Linked DNA regions of Homo sapiens: region 2 is linked to region 1. The links are contacts of gene promoters, found by promoter capture Hi-C in human tissues and cell types (Jung and others, 2019). All regions are on one chromosome and are shown on one strand. Each heading gives the region's core, a stretch centred on a gene start or on the middle of the fragment in contact. The rest is flanking DNA. Distances are from core to core; before and after follow the strand shown. Region 1 holds the start of MAPKAP1 (MAPK associated protein 1). Region 2 overlaps MAPKAP1 (MAPK associated protein 1).

Region 1 (7,085 bases), core at 1,734-4,233:
GCTCTACCAGCAGCATAAACTCAAGGAAGTTATTCAAGGTCTCTGTGCCCCAGTTTCCTCATCTGTAAAATCAGGATGCTAATAACACCTTCTCACACGAGAAAAAAATGAGATAAAGCATTTAACATCACACCAGCAGAGTAAGTACTCATTACCTACCATCATCAGTGTTTCCTTCTCAGTGTTCTATGGTACCTCCTGGGGACTTCTACCTTAGAACCCACAGTACTTTATTATGGTTCACCTGCACACACACAGACATCTCCTCTACTAGAATGTCAATAACCTCAGGATAGGGACCCAATTTTACTTCTTTTTGTATCCCCAAGGTCTAACATTTTGCTTGGCACTGCTGAAATGAATCGTAGATCCTCGAAGTATTTATTAACTGGAAAAGTTATTAGCAGAAACTGGAATTTACCTCCCTTGCCTGGTACTCAAGCCCTCACTGACTCTGACCCCTACCGCCCCTCCAACTTTACGTCCTTGTACCCTGCTAAAAGAAGCAATGACTTGCATGACTCAGGCTGTAAACTCACTCACCAGTCTAAAACCATGCCTCAAGCATTATACCTTTGTATCTTATAGCTATTTATTTCGGGGGACTTTACCACGTACCAGGCCCTTTATCCCCATTAGTTCAATAAATATTCACAACACTCCATGTGGTCAATATTATTCCCTAACCCAACCCCTAGTTGAAGAAAGTGATGCTTGGAGTTATGTGTCGAAGGTCACATATCCTGTAAGAACAGGGACCAGGAATTGAATCCAGAGTCCATGCCTATTTTCTATAGACTGTCTTCTCTGCTCATATTCAAAGCTGAGCTAACTAACCTACCTGCCATCTCCTTGCCTTGGAAGAGCACAGTCTTTACATTTAAAAGATTTCTGTACCATTCATTTTAACATTCATATGTTTTGTCCTATATAACTTTTGGTTTCAATATGTACTTGCATAAAAAGAGGGAGATGATGTGAGAAAAAGGCAAGACATGTAATGGAAAAAGCACAGATTTAGGCATCAGACAGACCTGGGTTTGAATCCTGGCTCTGTCTCCTACCAGCTGTGTAATTTATTATGGGTCTTCCTAATCTGTAAATTGAGGTTAAAATGATTAAACAATAGAAACCCCTATATAATACCCAAATACTCAAAGTTTAGTTTACCTCAAATTATGAAGCATTACCTGGCCACATCCCATCCCTCAAAGGTGAATAACCCATTCCCCTCCCGCACCTACCACTGTCACAAGAACTCTCACACAATGTACTTATCACGGTGTTAGAATTATTCATTTCCCTTATCTCTCTTTCACTAAATTGAGCTCCCTGGCAGCAAAGACTGAATCTTATATTTATCTCTAATTGCCTAGCATGGTACCTGGCATATATATACATATCCATATTCAGTAAACATTTGCTAAGTTAAATAATTGTAGATAAAAATGAGCGCTTATAGAATTCTAGAGGAAAAATCATTTCCAGGTGGGGTTGTCCTGAATTGGTTGGGTGAGGCCAACTCAGCTGAGCCGTGGGAAGCGTCTCAATAGACTGAAAGAGAAAAGGGGAAACCTAGGCAAGGTAGGGAGAATGTTCTACAAAAATCAATGGAATAGGAAAGAACAAAAATGATTAGAGATCCTACTTATTCAGAGTAATGGATCAGGATGGGGTAATTAAAGAAGGAGACCTTTTCAAGCATAACTGGAAAGGTAACCAGGAGCCAGATTAGGAGATGTAAGGGGGTGTAAGTGCAGTCTGGGACACACAGTAGTTGAAGGTAGGCATGAGCACACAGATGAATGGGAAAGGGCTACCAGCATGCCCCAAATCCCGCAGGTGTGTAAACTGAAAAACATGAAAACAATTATTGCTTCATCAAGAACTCTTTCCGTGTTTACTAGGTACCTTGTGTGGGCTCATAAAATATAAGGAATAAAACCCATATCTAGGCTTCTGCTCAAGTGGGTTTTAACATTACGGATCCACCTCTCCTGCTTGTCAGAGAATGAGAACGCTGCTTTTTTTAAACCAATGGGTCTCCATTTGACTCTTCACACCTGGGAAAGTTTTGAACTTTGCCGATTTGGGTTTATAACAACATGGTGCTTTGTACAGTGCCAGGTACTGTGGTGGGCTTCCAAAGTGACTTTCATTCATTCAAAAGGAAGTTTTAACCAATTTCTGAGTCAATTTGGGGGTCTCTGGTTAAAGTCATAATCTTGTTTACGCTACAATCTCTTTTTCCCAGCCTTAAACAAATCTAAATGACTCCTTGCCACTCCCATAAACAAAGAATGAATCAAAGTTCCAGCAGCACTGTAGCTAGAAAAAAGTCTGTAAGGCTGTTAACCTCTTTAAGGGGGAGGGGGAGAAGGGACGCAAGGAAACAAGGACCACACAGTCAATGCTTGAAAACCTTGATTTTCACATTATGAAGACCAGGGCACCTAGATATTGCCAAGTGCAGGCCCAGAAACTGCCGGAGTCAACTACACCCCCCACCCCCACACTACCAGGTCAGCTGGCTTCTTTTCCCCTAAACCACACACCCGCCTCAGACTCCTGACAGCCTCCAGTTCTGGAAATGGCCAGGAAACGAACGCGCCCGGGCCACCTGAACAAGGGCCCGGCAGGCGGCCCGCCGGGCAGCGCTGAAACTGGAGGGGTGAGAGGGCCGCCAGGTGGGCAAGCTGGTGGGCTGACGGACGGGCGGGGAGCTGGCGGCTGGGGCAACCTTTACCTGAAGCTGCTTCCACACTACGGGCCGGGTCGGCCCCGGGACACGTTCCTGAGGGGAGGGCCCGGCTCCCCCACGCCTCCCGGCCCCTGCCCCGAGCTCTGCACTCTCGGGATCCACGGGGACCGGCGCTCCTCCCGGCCCGCTCAGCTGCCGCTTCCCGGGTTAGCCCTCATGCCCCTGCTGCTCGCCGCCGCCGGCCGGCCGAGCAGCAGCCCTATTACCCCGAGCCGCACACGACCCGGAACCACACCCCGGCGTTCCGGAAGTCCCCGACCGGGAAGGAGCCTCTGGCTGGGGACGTAGTGCGCAAGCCCCAGAGCTGAAAGCAAGGAGCGGTAGCTTCCCGCGGGGCGGGGCCGGGAGGGAGGCCGGGCGCATGCGCGCCGCTTCTCCAGTGCAGGGAAAGGCCTGGGTCGGAGACTGAGTTCTGGCAAGATGCGCCAGTGCCTGGACTTGCCTTGAGCAGGAATCAGTGTTAGGCTTCTCCATCGAATCTTCTTTCTCCCCATTTCCACGGAGAAAAGCCCTTAGTTCGTCCAGAAATGAGTGATGAGGCAGCTCAGCCTCTCTGAGAAAGACCTGGGTTCAAATGCCAGCTCTTATAACTTGCTGTGTGTCCTAGGATGTGACACTTCTCTCTGAGCCTCGGGTTTTCCCATCCAGGGCAATAGTTTCAACTTTAGAGTATATTGCTGTGGGAATCGAATGGGATGATGCTTGAAAAACACCCAGCATAGTGCCTGACACATAGTAAACATGCAGTCAATGTTAGTTATTTCTCTTATTATAATATCTGTAATATGGAGGTGACAATAATCTTCCTCAAGCCCTGCTGGGAGGTTTCCAGGAGATGTAGGAGGACTGGCACAGGGCAGAAGTTCAGTGTGTCTCATGCTGCTCCCTTCCTCTCTCACGGAGGAAATCAGTAGAGAAAGCCACGATGAAGGGGGAAAAAGGATTCAGGGAGTGCAGTGAGAGTGGTTCTCCCACCTGAAAGATGCTTGGGGAAGTCTCTCAAAAACGCACCTTAGCAAAAGAAAAAACTCAAGGTTGAATTTCAGCCCTGAGGGACCCCTGCCCAATTTTAAACTTATTAATAAATATGCCATGGGGCCAGGCACGGTGGCTCACACCTGTAATCCCAGCACTTTGGGAGGCCGAGGAGGGCAGATCACTTGAGATCAGGAGTTCGAGACCAGCCTGGCCAACATGGTGAAACCCTGTCTCTACTAAAAATACAAAAATTAGTCTGGCGTGGTGGTGTGCACCTGTAGTCCCAGCTACTCAGGAGACTGAGGCAGGAGAATGGCTTGAACCCGGGAGGCAGAGGTTGCAGTGACCCAAGATCAGGCCACTGCACTCCAGCCTGGGTGACAGAGACTCTGTCTCAAAACAAAAAAACAAAAAACACGGTGGGTCTACCCATGTATTTCAAATATGGTCATCCATCACTTAATGATGAGGACACAAGAAATGCATCGTTAGCTGATTTTGTGGTTGTGTAAACATCATAGACTGTACTTACACAATGTCAGAGCCTACTACACACCTAGGCTGTTTGGTATTAGCCTATTGCTTCTAGGCTGCACACCTGTACAGCATGTTACTGTACCATATACTGTAGGCAATTCTAACACAATGGTATTTGTGTATCTAAACATCTCTAAATGCAGAAAAGGTACAATTAAAAGACCATGTTATAATCTTAGGGGACCACCATCATATGCACTCTGTCATTGACCAAAACATCCTCATTCCACGCATGACCATATGTGATTGATCTCTTACTACATCCCATTACTTTATGTAATTGGTATCTTACCACATATCTATACTGGGGGAATAGTGCACCTCAGCACCCAGACACACTCTTGCACACACACCACCACAGTTCCATCAGGGACCTGTCAGAGGCACTCTAACAAAGCAGCAGGTGTGAACAAGTTTGGATATTTGATTTTCTGAGGTCACCAGGTTATCTGTTCCTTCCTAAATCTTACTCTCCATTTTCCTCTCTCTCTCTCTCGAGTTCCAATCTGAAGCACAGCTGCCTGACTGTCTCCTAGACACATAAAACTCGACCTATCTAAAACTGCTAAGCAGTTATAGATTCTAAAGAGTAAATATTTCCTAGCACTTTGAGAGACCAAGGCAGGAAGATCATCTGAGCCCAGGAGTTCAAGACCAGCCTAGGCAACATGGTGAGACCCCATCACTACCTTAAAAAATTTATCTCTATATAGGCCGGGCACGGTGGCTCATGCCTGTAATCCCAGCACTTTGGGAGGCCAAGGGGTGCGGATCACAAGGTCAGAAGATCAAGACCATCCTGTCTTAACATGGTGAAACCCTGTCTCTACTAAAAAAAAAAAAAAAAAAATACGAAAAATTAGCCAGGCATGTGGCACACACCTGTAGTCCCAGCTACTTGAGAGGCTGAGGCAGGAGAATCGCTTGAACCTGGGAGGTGAAGGTTGCAGTGAGCACACCACTGCAGCCCAGCCTGGACAACAGAGTGAGAGTCTGTCTCAAAAAAATAAAAAATAAAAAAATATATATATACACACACATATACACATATATTTTTTTTAGCCAGGTGTGGTGGTGAATGCCTGTAGTCCTAGCTGCTTGGGAGGCTGAGATGGGATGATTGCTTGAGCCCTGGGAGGTCAAGGCTGCAGTGAGACGTGATCATGCCACTGCACTCCAGCCTGGATGAAAGAGCAATGCCCTGTCTTGAAAAAAAAATTAGAAAAATAAAAAGTGAATACTCACTCTGCCACTTACAAGTTTTGTGACTTCATCTCTCCAAGTTGCTTCTCTAAATATTCTTATCTTTACCTGGAAAATGGGAATGACAGAAGTCCTACATAACCTCATTAGTTTGTTGCAAGGATAGAATGACCTAATACATGTAGCTTACATATAACAGAGCCTGGCATGTGACTATTATTTACTAATGCCTACCAGTATGAGTATACCTCAGTCAGTAAGCAATACTTATTGAGTGCCTATTGAGATTCAGTGGTGAAAAAGCCAGACGGGGACCCTACCCTTAAGAAGCCTTGTAGTCAAGTTCGACTATGGGTTTGAAATACTGTAGTTACTGTGGTAAGTTGGCATGCAGTGATATATGGTAGGATTTCAAGGACAGTATTGAGGGCCCAGTTGAGAATGGAGACTAAATGTATGGTGATACTAATATGATGGCTAGTGTGATTATTCTATAGCTAGTTGGAGCAGTCACGATACACACACCCAAAGAATGAGAAGTTGGATTGATCCAAGGAAGGATTTTGCCAGACAGGTGTGATGGGGTCATATCAGCTTTTAAGAGTGCTTAAAACAATGAGCCATAGAAAGTATGCTGGATAGGGAAGCAAGAGAATTCCAGAAAAACAGGTATCACTGGCCTAAAGGTCTCAAATAGATGTAATGGAAGTCACTGATGAAGGAAAGCAGAAGGATGGAGGTTATTGTCACAGATGGATGTTTCAACAAATAACCTCAGAGGAGGAGCCATGTGAGAGGGGGTCCCAGCTAAAGTGGAATGGGGGGAAAATCACTGAAGATGAGATAGTCAAGGAACTGAGATCCTTGTGAACGTCCATCCCAAGATGGTGGACAGACATGGGGTGAAAAGGAAACCAGACGTGCTCCCCATGGCATCTGCAACTGAGGAACAGCACTGGGGAGGTAGATGAGGAGGAGAGAGGAGAAACTAATTGGATGGCATGAGCCTCCAAGAAGCAGGAGTTGTATTGGTGGAAGTGTCATTAAAGCATACATTGACCTGTCTCCTGACCTGGGGTGTACAGTGGTAGGACCATGAGAGCTAACACACATACAAATTTTTTTTTTTTTTTTGAGATGAAGTCTCGCTCTGTCGCCAGGCTAGAGTGCAGTGGCACGATCTCAGCTCACTGTAACCTCCGCCTCCCAGGTTCAAGCCATTCTCCTGTCCCAGCCTCCCGAATAGCTGGGACTACAGGTGCCCGCCACCATACCCGGCAAATTTTTCTATTTTTAGTAGAGACGGGGTTTCACCATGTTGGCCAGGTTGGTCTCGATCTCTTGACCTTGTGGTCTGCCTGCCTCTGCCTCCCAAAGTGCAAGGATTACAGGCGTGAGCCACCACACCCGGCCACAAAAATAACATTTTTACAGCACACTGATGGTGCTGGGCCAGGGGCTGGCTAGGGGACTCCCATAGACATCAGGGCAGCGGGACAGGTACCTGGGCATACCTATGACAATCAGGCTTCACAGCCTTCATCTCCAGCTTGGAAAGGAAGCCATGTTAGGGGGTGGAGGTTCTTTTTCTTCTGGTTCCCGGGAC
Region 2 (7,085 bases), core at 2,379-4,878, 97 kb before region 1:
GGAATAATATTACATACTTTAAAGGGAAGCTTGAAAGAATGAATGAAATGGCATAGTAGATACTCTGGCATACAGCAAACACTCCAATAGTTTCTATTACATTAAACTGAATCATATGAAACTGCTGATAATCACTTATGACCTACAAAAATTGCAATTTCATAGGGTTTCAACAAATATTATAGCGACTGAAACAATAAATATCATGGGCTGGAGAAATAACTGAGAATTCTCAAAAATAAAATGAACTACACTCCTATCAAAGGAAGACAAGCAAGATATAAAGGGTGTTTTTCAAAGACTGGCTCTTCATTCCAACACTACAGCAGCTAATATTTATCAAACACTATAGGTCAGATATCACCCCATACATTTGACATCCATATTAGCTTATGTAATCTCAAACAACTCTGAGTTAGATTCAACAATTATTTCTATTTTAGAGTTGAAATGGAAGCTTGCAGAAATGAAGCAACATGCCCAAAGTTACACAGCTAGTGAAGCGAGGATGCTAACTGGGGATGTCTAACTCCAGAGTCTGAGTTCTTACTCATCACTTAAAATTGCCTTCCCCACTGCAAAGTCGCTTACTTTGCTTTTATTTTTTATTTATTTATTATATATTTTTTGAGACAGTGTCTTGCTCTGTCACCAGGCTGGAGTGCAGTGGCACGATCTCGGCTCACTGCAACCTCCGCCTCCCGGGTTCAAGCGATTCTCCTGCCTCAGCCTCCCAAGTAGCTGGGACTACAGGCATGTGCCACCACACCCAGCTAATTTTTGTATTTTTAGTAGAGACGGGGTTTCACCATGTTGGCCAGGATGGGCTTGATCTCTTGACCTTGTGATCTGCCTGCCTTGGCCTCCCAAAGTGACTTTGCTTTTAATAAGACTGTATGGGGGCAAAGAGCAAACAAGTTACAAATCAACTTGTGGGCTTCCGAAGGATGGCCATGTCAATGGGCAGACAGGCACCAGCAGGGAGGGTATGTCACGCCAGCGCCTGTAGTGACTGGGAGGATGATGCATCCAACAGTCCCACTGCAACCATGGCACTCTAGGGTTCTACTTACCCCATGTCATAGTGTTATTAGAAAAAGAAAAAAAGAATAGTAGCAGACATGCTTCGAAGTTTCCAGAAAAGTCCTGAAGTTTTAATCAAATAGCTGCTGTGTTCCCATTATGTTACAGTCAAGCCTTTTCACAATGTGACAAAGGAAGCAAAGCTTTTTATTTATTTGTTAGTCTGATCATTTATTTATTTATGTTCACATCTCTTGCTTCCTGAATCCTTTGATGTAAACAGTGAACAAGCCATCATAGCAAGGGAAATGGCACTGACAGTGGATGCTCTGAATCCACTCCCTTTAAAAAGAGAATTCAAGTCAAGAAAACCCCCAAATGCCAGGCTTTCAAAGCCAAAATTCTAAAAGCCATCACATTTGCATTTAGGGCTTCTTGGGGCCGCCGCTGTGGCACCAAAATCCACCAAAGATAAAGAAGATATTTGTACTAAGTTGGGAAAGTGGAGACATCAGCATTTCCGCCTTCAGACCATTATTCCTGCTCTCCAGACAGCACCTGATAAAGCATCTGGAGTGTTTTGTCTTCTGCGCAGCCACTGCTTTTCCGACGCCTGCGCTCAGGGGTTTCCCTGGGGTTTCCTTTCCAACAATTGCACAGAGACTCTGAGAGGAGCCCAAACCGGCTGCCTTAACCTTCCAGTAAACCGCTATTTCCACAGAGGATTAAATCAAACGTTTCAAATAAGCCAATTTCCTTTACTAAAAAACCAAAATGACAATATTAGTACCAAGAGAAATATACAAAGATGATGAATAAGACATACTTCTCCTGTCTTTGGGCATGCAAAAAAATAGAGAGCAAAAGGTTAGATGGAGGTGGGTTACACAATTCCCTCTTATTTCCAATACTGCCCTACAGTGGAGCCTAACTAAGAAGATACACAAGAATTAGACTGAGTCATATCAAGAGGGAGAGAAAAAAACCTAAATGCTTATACTACCTGAAACATGCTGATGTTTCATGTTATATATTTTTAAATTCCTGTTAATTGTAAATTTGTCTATTAAAAATGCAACTGTGTCATTTTTTAATTAGGTACTTCCAGAATTCTGGGGATGCAAAATGGTTACTTGCTGAACTGATGGGAATGAAAATTCCTATCTTTGAGGTCTCTATAGAAGGGAACAAGTTTCCTTCCCCTAAAGTACCCAAAGCAGCTCCCTTGAACCACAGCAAGTGGGAACTTCCTTTGACCCAAAGGGGTAGGGATATATATGCTCAACTAAATGAACAGGACATATACAAAAAAGAGCTGGAACAGAAAAAATCCTTAAGAAATCCCACTCTCGGAATGCTAAGGGAAGCAGACAGCCTCTGGCTTTGTTTCACCTGCCAAGCTTCTTTATTTATTTGTTTGTTTGTTTGTTTTTAAGAAAGAGTATGTTGTTTATTTGTCTTTAAGAAAGAGTCTCACTATGTTGCCCAGGTTGGTCTTGAACTCCCGAGCTCAAGTGATCCCCTTGCCTCTGCCTCCTGAATAGCTAACTCAGGCACTTGTCACCGGGCCTGGCCTGCCAAGCTTCATCCTGTTTTCCTCATTTTCTGACCCTGAGTGCCTTTCTCGTTTTTCTCTTTTTGGTAGTTTTGGTAGTTTCTCCCAAACCCACATTCAATTTTACACTACTCCATGTACAATGTGAGATGTTTCACATTTAACACTCTATTAACAGCATCTTGAACATTTCTGGAAAGAGAATAACTAAAATTAAAAATGGCTACCATTTACTCTGTGCCTGGCACTGGGCTGAGTGTGCCACATAAATTCTCTCTTTTGATCTTCAAAACAGCCCCCACTTACCCTATTTTACAGATAAACTGCTAAGAGGTGAAAGAAATTGTTAAAGGTCACACAGCCAGTAAGATAACTCAGATGGAAACCCGCCTCTGACTGACTCAAAAGACCACAATCTTAACTTGACAACAATTCTTCCCAAAACCAATATATTTGAAAAGCTTTTTTGGAGGGAAAGTTCTTATTTGAAAAAACATCTTCTTACATTTTGAATCAACATTTGCATGAAATAAAGAGCCATGATATGTGTAAACACAAACTCTTTCTCTTCATTCTGTAATATATATTCCTCTCCCACAGCATTTAATACAACACACTAAAAACTATTTTACTATAGGACTTGTATTTCAACCATATGGCAAAGTATGTATCCTGACCAACCCTCAAACAGAAAACAGTTAAACATATTTATGAAATATAAAAAGAGCTATTTTATCTGACTCAATACACTGGTTGGCAACTTTTTAAGGCAATCACAAAAGCACAAAGACTAAGTGAAAAGAGAATCTAGAATGAAAAACAGAACATAATTTTGCCTTAATGATGGTACTTGCCAAACAAGGTGACATGAAGTGTCAGTTTTCTTGGTCAGCAGGCTATAGGGAACAGTCTATCTATAACCTATAATAAGACCGTGATACCCTCCTCACAACCCACCACCACCAAAGACCTACATGTGAGAGTAAATTAGAATTAAGGTTTCCCGACTGACCTCCAGCAAGGTAAAACTGCCTGTCTTCCCCCAAAATTATTTTCTTCCTCAGACTTTATAAACATAAACGAACCTTCATATGAAATTTCTATCCCAAATTCGTATTATTTGATGGACCAGAAAGATTTTAAGCCAAGAATTTAAAGTGGTCCTGAGGTGGTAGTGCCCCCAGGTTCTAGGTAGAAGCAAACGCAGATCCTATTGGGAAAAACCTAAATGACTCAAATAATTCCAACAGAAAAATTTGCAAGAAATAATTTGTTCTATCTCCAAATCACAAAACATAGAAGGCATCATGAAATAGGCCCAGAAAGACTGGAGTTAACAGTATGATCAGAAGCAAAATATAAAATAAATGTGTAAGCAAAAATGTGGAGTAAGTGCAAGAGACTATAAAAGATTATCCAAGGTGTGATATATTATGGTTGAGTAGGAGAATGTCGCTAGGAGTGAATGTCAACTTTTAAAGATTAAATAAAGCATAAATAAAGCAAATATGACAAAATGTTAACAATTACTGAATACAGGTGCTACACATAAGGGTGCTCACTGAACTTTTACTAATAAAATTACTACACTTTTCGTAATAGTTTTTTAAATTACCAAGCAGATTTTTACAAGATCAAAATCAGACTTCTAGAAATTAAAAATACAACAACTAAAATTGGAAATGCAACATATGGGTTCCACAGCTGAGGAGAGAATCTGTTAGGAAGATATGAGTTGAAGAAATTACCTAGAATGCAACCCAAAGAGACACAGAGATAGGAAATAAGAAAGAGAAATTAAGAGATGAGAAGGATAAAATAACACATTCTGATAGGTGTAGCTAGAGTTTCAGAAGAAGAGAAAAGAATAACTGGTTCGGAGGCAATGTCTGAAAAGACAGTGGCTGAGAATTTTCCAGAATGATGAAAGACACTAATATGCAGATTCAGAAAGCCCAATGAATGCAAAAGAAGAAAAATAGGAAAGAAGATCTGTATCTTAAAACATCAAAATGAAATTGCATCTATACCAGACAAATATCAACCAAATGGAGCAGGTGTAACTATTTGAAAGGGAGGAAAACTTCACTAGAGTTAATCACAAATGACAAATGGTTCAATTCACCAGGAAAAAATAGCAATTCTGAAATTGTGTGAACATAAAAGCATAACATCACAATATACAAAGAAAAAATAGTCACAATTAACAAGAAAAAATGGACAGTCTATCAACAGCAGGAAATTCAAGCGTATTTCTGTCTAACTGATGGCTTGGACAAAAATATCTGTAAAGAAAATTTTAACAGATTTACAGATTGAGTATCCCCTATTCAAAATTATTGGGACCAGGAGTGTTTCATATTTAAGATTCTGAAATATTTACACTATACTTATTGGTTGAGTAACCCTAATCCAAAAATCCAAAATGTAATATGCTCCAATGAGCATTTCCTTTGATCATGCTCCAAAGGAAATGCTTGTTTCTAAATATTTTCTGATTTCTGTTATTTTTTGATACATGAGTTACTTATAAGCGCTCAAAAAGTTTTAGATTTTGGAGCATTTTAAACTTCAGATTTTCAGAGTAAGAATGCTCAACCTGTAACAGTCTTGACCTAATGACAATATTTAGAATATTGCAACCAACAGCAGCTAAAATCACATTCTTTCCAAGTTCACATATAATATTTATAAAAGGTGACCTATATTAATGGGCATACAGCCATGCTCAACGAATTTCAAATAACTGGTAGTGTCACAGCTTCTGTACAAATTCTTTTAGTTTTTTTTTAAATTTAAAATTTTTATGTTAGCTCTTTAATGGGGGGCGGCATGTGGAGTAAGATTGGAAATTAAACTTATCTACTAACAATCAGTTGTTGTAGAACCACAATAAACTGAGTTCCTAAACGCACTGTCTATTTCCTGATTCCCTATTCTTTCTGAAGCCATCTGTCCTGCAGTGTTTTTGAACAGGCCAGCATTCATGTACAAATCTTTATGTGAATGAACTTATGTTTTTAATTCTGTTGGGTAAATAGAGGCTCTATCAATTAAGAGATCCTGATTCCCAAAGGGAGAACACTTCCACTGGGAGACACAGCAGAAGTACCACTAAATGTTAAAACTATGGCTGCAGCCCAGGTTCCTCATGCCAAGGGACATCAGGCAAGAAGGAAAGTCACCATCCTCACAGGAGTGACTGACACTCATCAAAAGAACATGAGGCTGTTACACAATGGAGGCAGGAAGAAACACATCTAGCCAGTAAATCCATTGGGGTATCTTATTACTTTTACCCAATTTTAGTGGTTAATGGACAAATGAAGCAGCTACATCCTGAGAAAGGTAAACAGAGGCTTGGGCCCTCAGACATAAGGATCTGGGTCATCATACCATTTAAGACCTAGACCAGCCAAGATGCTAACTAACCAAGGTTGACAGGACTAGAATAAATACTTGAAGAGACAGATGAGTGTTAGTCATGACCTCAAGACCAGTGGTAGAAACAGGACTGTAGATCATTATACTAACCCTCTTTGTATAAATTTCCCCAAAGAAACGAAGTCCAACGCAGACCTGAAGGTGTGCTCCCAGAACTTAACATGAAGCCAGTAAACCCAAGCAGCACCAAGGGTGGACTGTACCACCCAGATTCCCTCTTTTCAGGAATAAAGCGCATATTTCCCAACTGCTGGAAGGAATGCTGGCTGATGGCTATCAGCTGTTAGTCCTTTCCTGCAATTGTGCTGGCTGACAGAGTCACCTTGCCAAGACTGCACCTCCTTCTCACGACACTCAGAATCCAATGATAGGTTAGATGCAAGAATGTAAGAGGCCTGACCCCCTTACCCTAACTTGGGACAACTGTGAAGGTCCATCCAGCTGCAGAGTACTCCATGGTGTCAGGTGAGGCCTTGTTACGACTGCATCACAGTCCCAACTCCTCCCTCTACCCAATTCTGTTTTCCTCCCTTTTCCACACAGATGCTAATCCAGAAAACACTCCCTAATACATTTCCTGCATGTTAATCTCCATTTCAGAGACTGCTTCCCAGGAGAACCCAACCTGTGACAACAATAGTTTACTTTTATTAGCAGGTTCCGCCAAACATTCAAAGAACAGATAATGCTAGAATTACCCATACTATTTAACCTTACTGAAAAAGAGCAATTTCTTTTTTTTTTTTTTAAGACGGAGTCTCGCTCTGTCACCCAAGCTGGAGTGCAGTGGCGCGATCTCAGCTCACTGCAAGCTCCGCCTCCCAGGTTCACGCCATTCTCCTGCCTCATCCTCCCCAGTAGCTGGGACTACAGGCGCCCGCCACCACGCTCGGCTAATTTTTTGTATTTTTTAATAGAGACGGGGTTTCACCATGTTAGCCAGGATGGTCTTGATCTCCTGACCTCGTGATCCACCCGCCTCGGCCTCCCAAAGTGCTGGGATTACAGGCGTGAGCCACCAGGCCCGGCCAAAAAAGAGCAATTTCTAAATCACTTTATAAGG

What was found. Contacts are between HindIII fragments. The study calls those that stand out against the background at their distance.
Region 2: a fragment that was not itself captured here is called in contact with the fragment with the promoter of MAPKAP1 in region 1 in 2 of the 25 tissues and cell types used here (dorsolateral prefrontal cortex and hippocampus).

What each region holds. Positions count from the first base shown.
Region 1 is chr9:125,704,225-125,711,309 of GRCh38, forward strand. It overlaps MAPKAP1 (MAPK associated protein 1), which reads right to left and starts at 2,984. Exons shown (of 12, transcript NM_001006617.3): 1 at 2,747-2,984. RefSeq lists silencers at 2,688-2,917, 3,028-3,197 and enhancers at 2,906-3,200, 3,198-3,357. The HindIII fragment of the contact is 13,511 bases long and covers 1-7,085 here.
Region 2 is chr9:125,607,046-125,614,130 of GRCh38, forward strand. The region is part of intron 4 of MAPKAP1 (MAPK associated protein 1); the gene reads right to left. Among named protein-coding and RNA genes, the nearest start is that of MAPKAP1, 97 kb to the right of the region's middle. The HindIII fragment of the contact is 6,770 bases long and covers 244-7,013 here.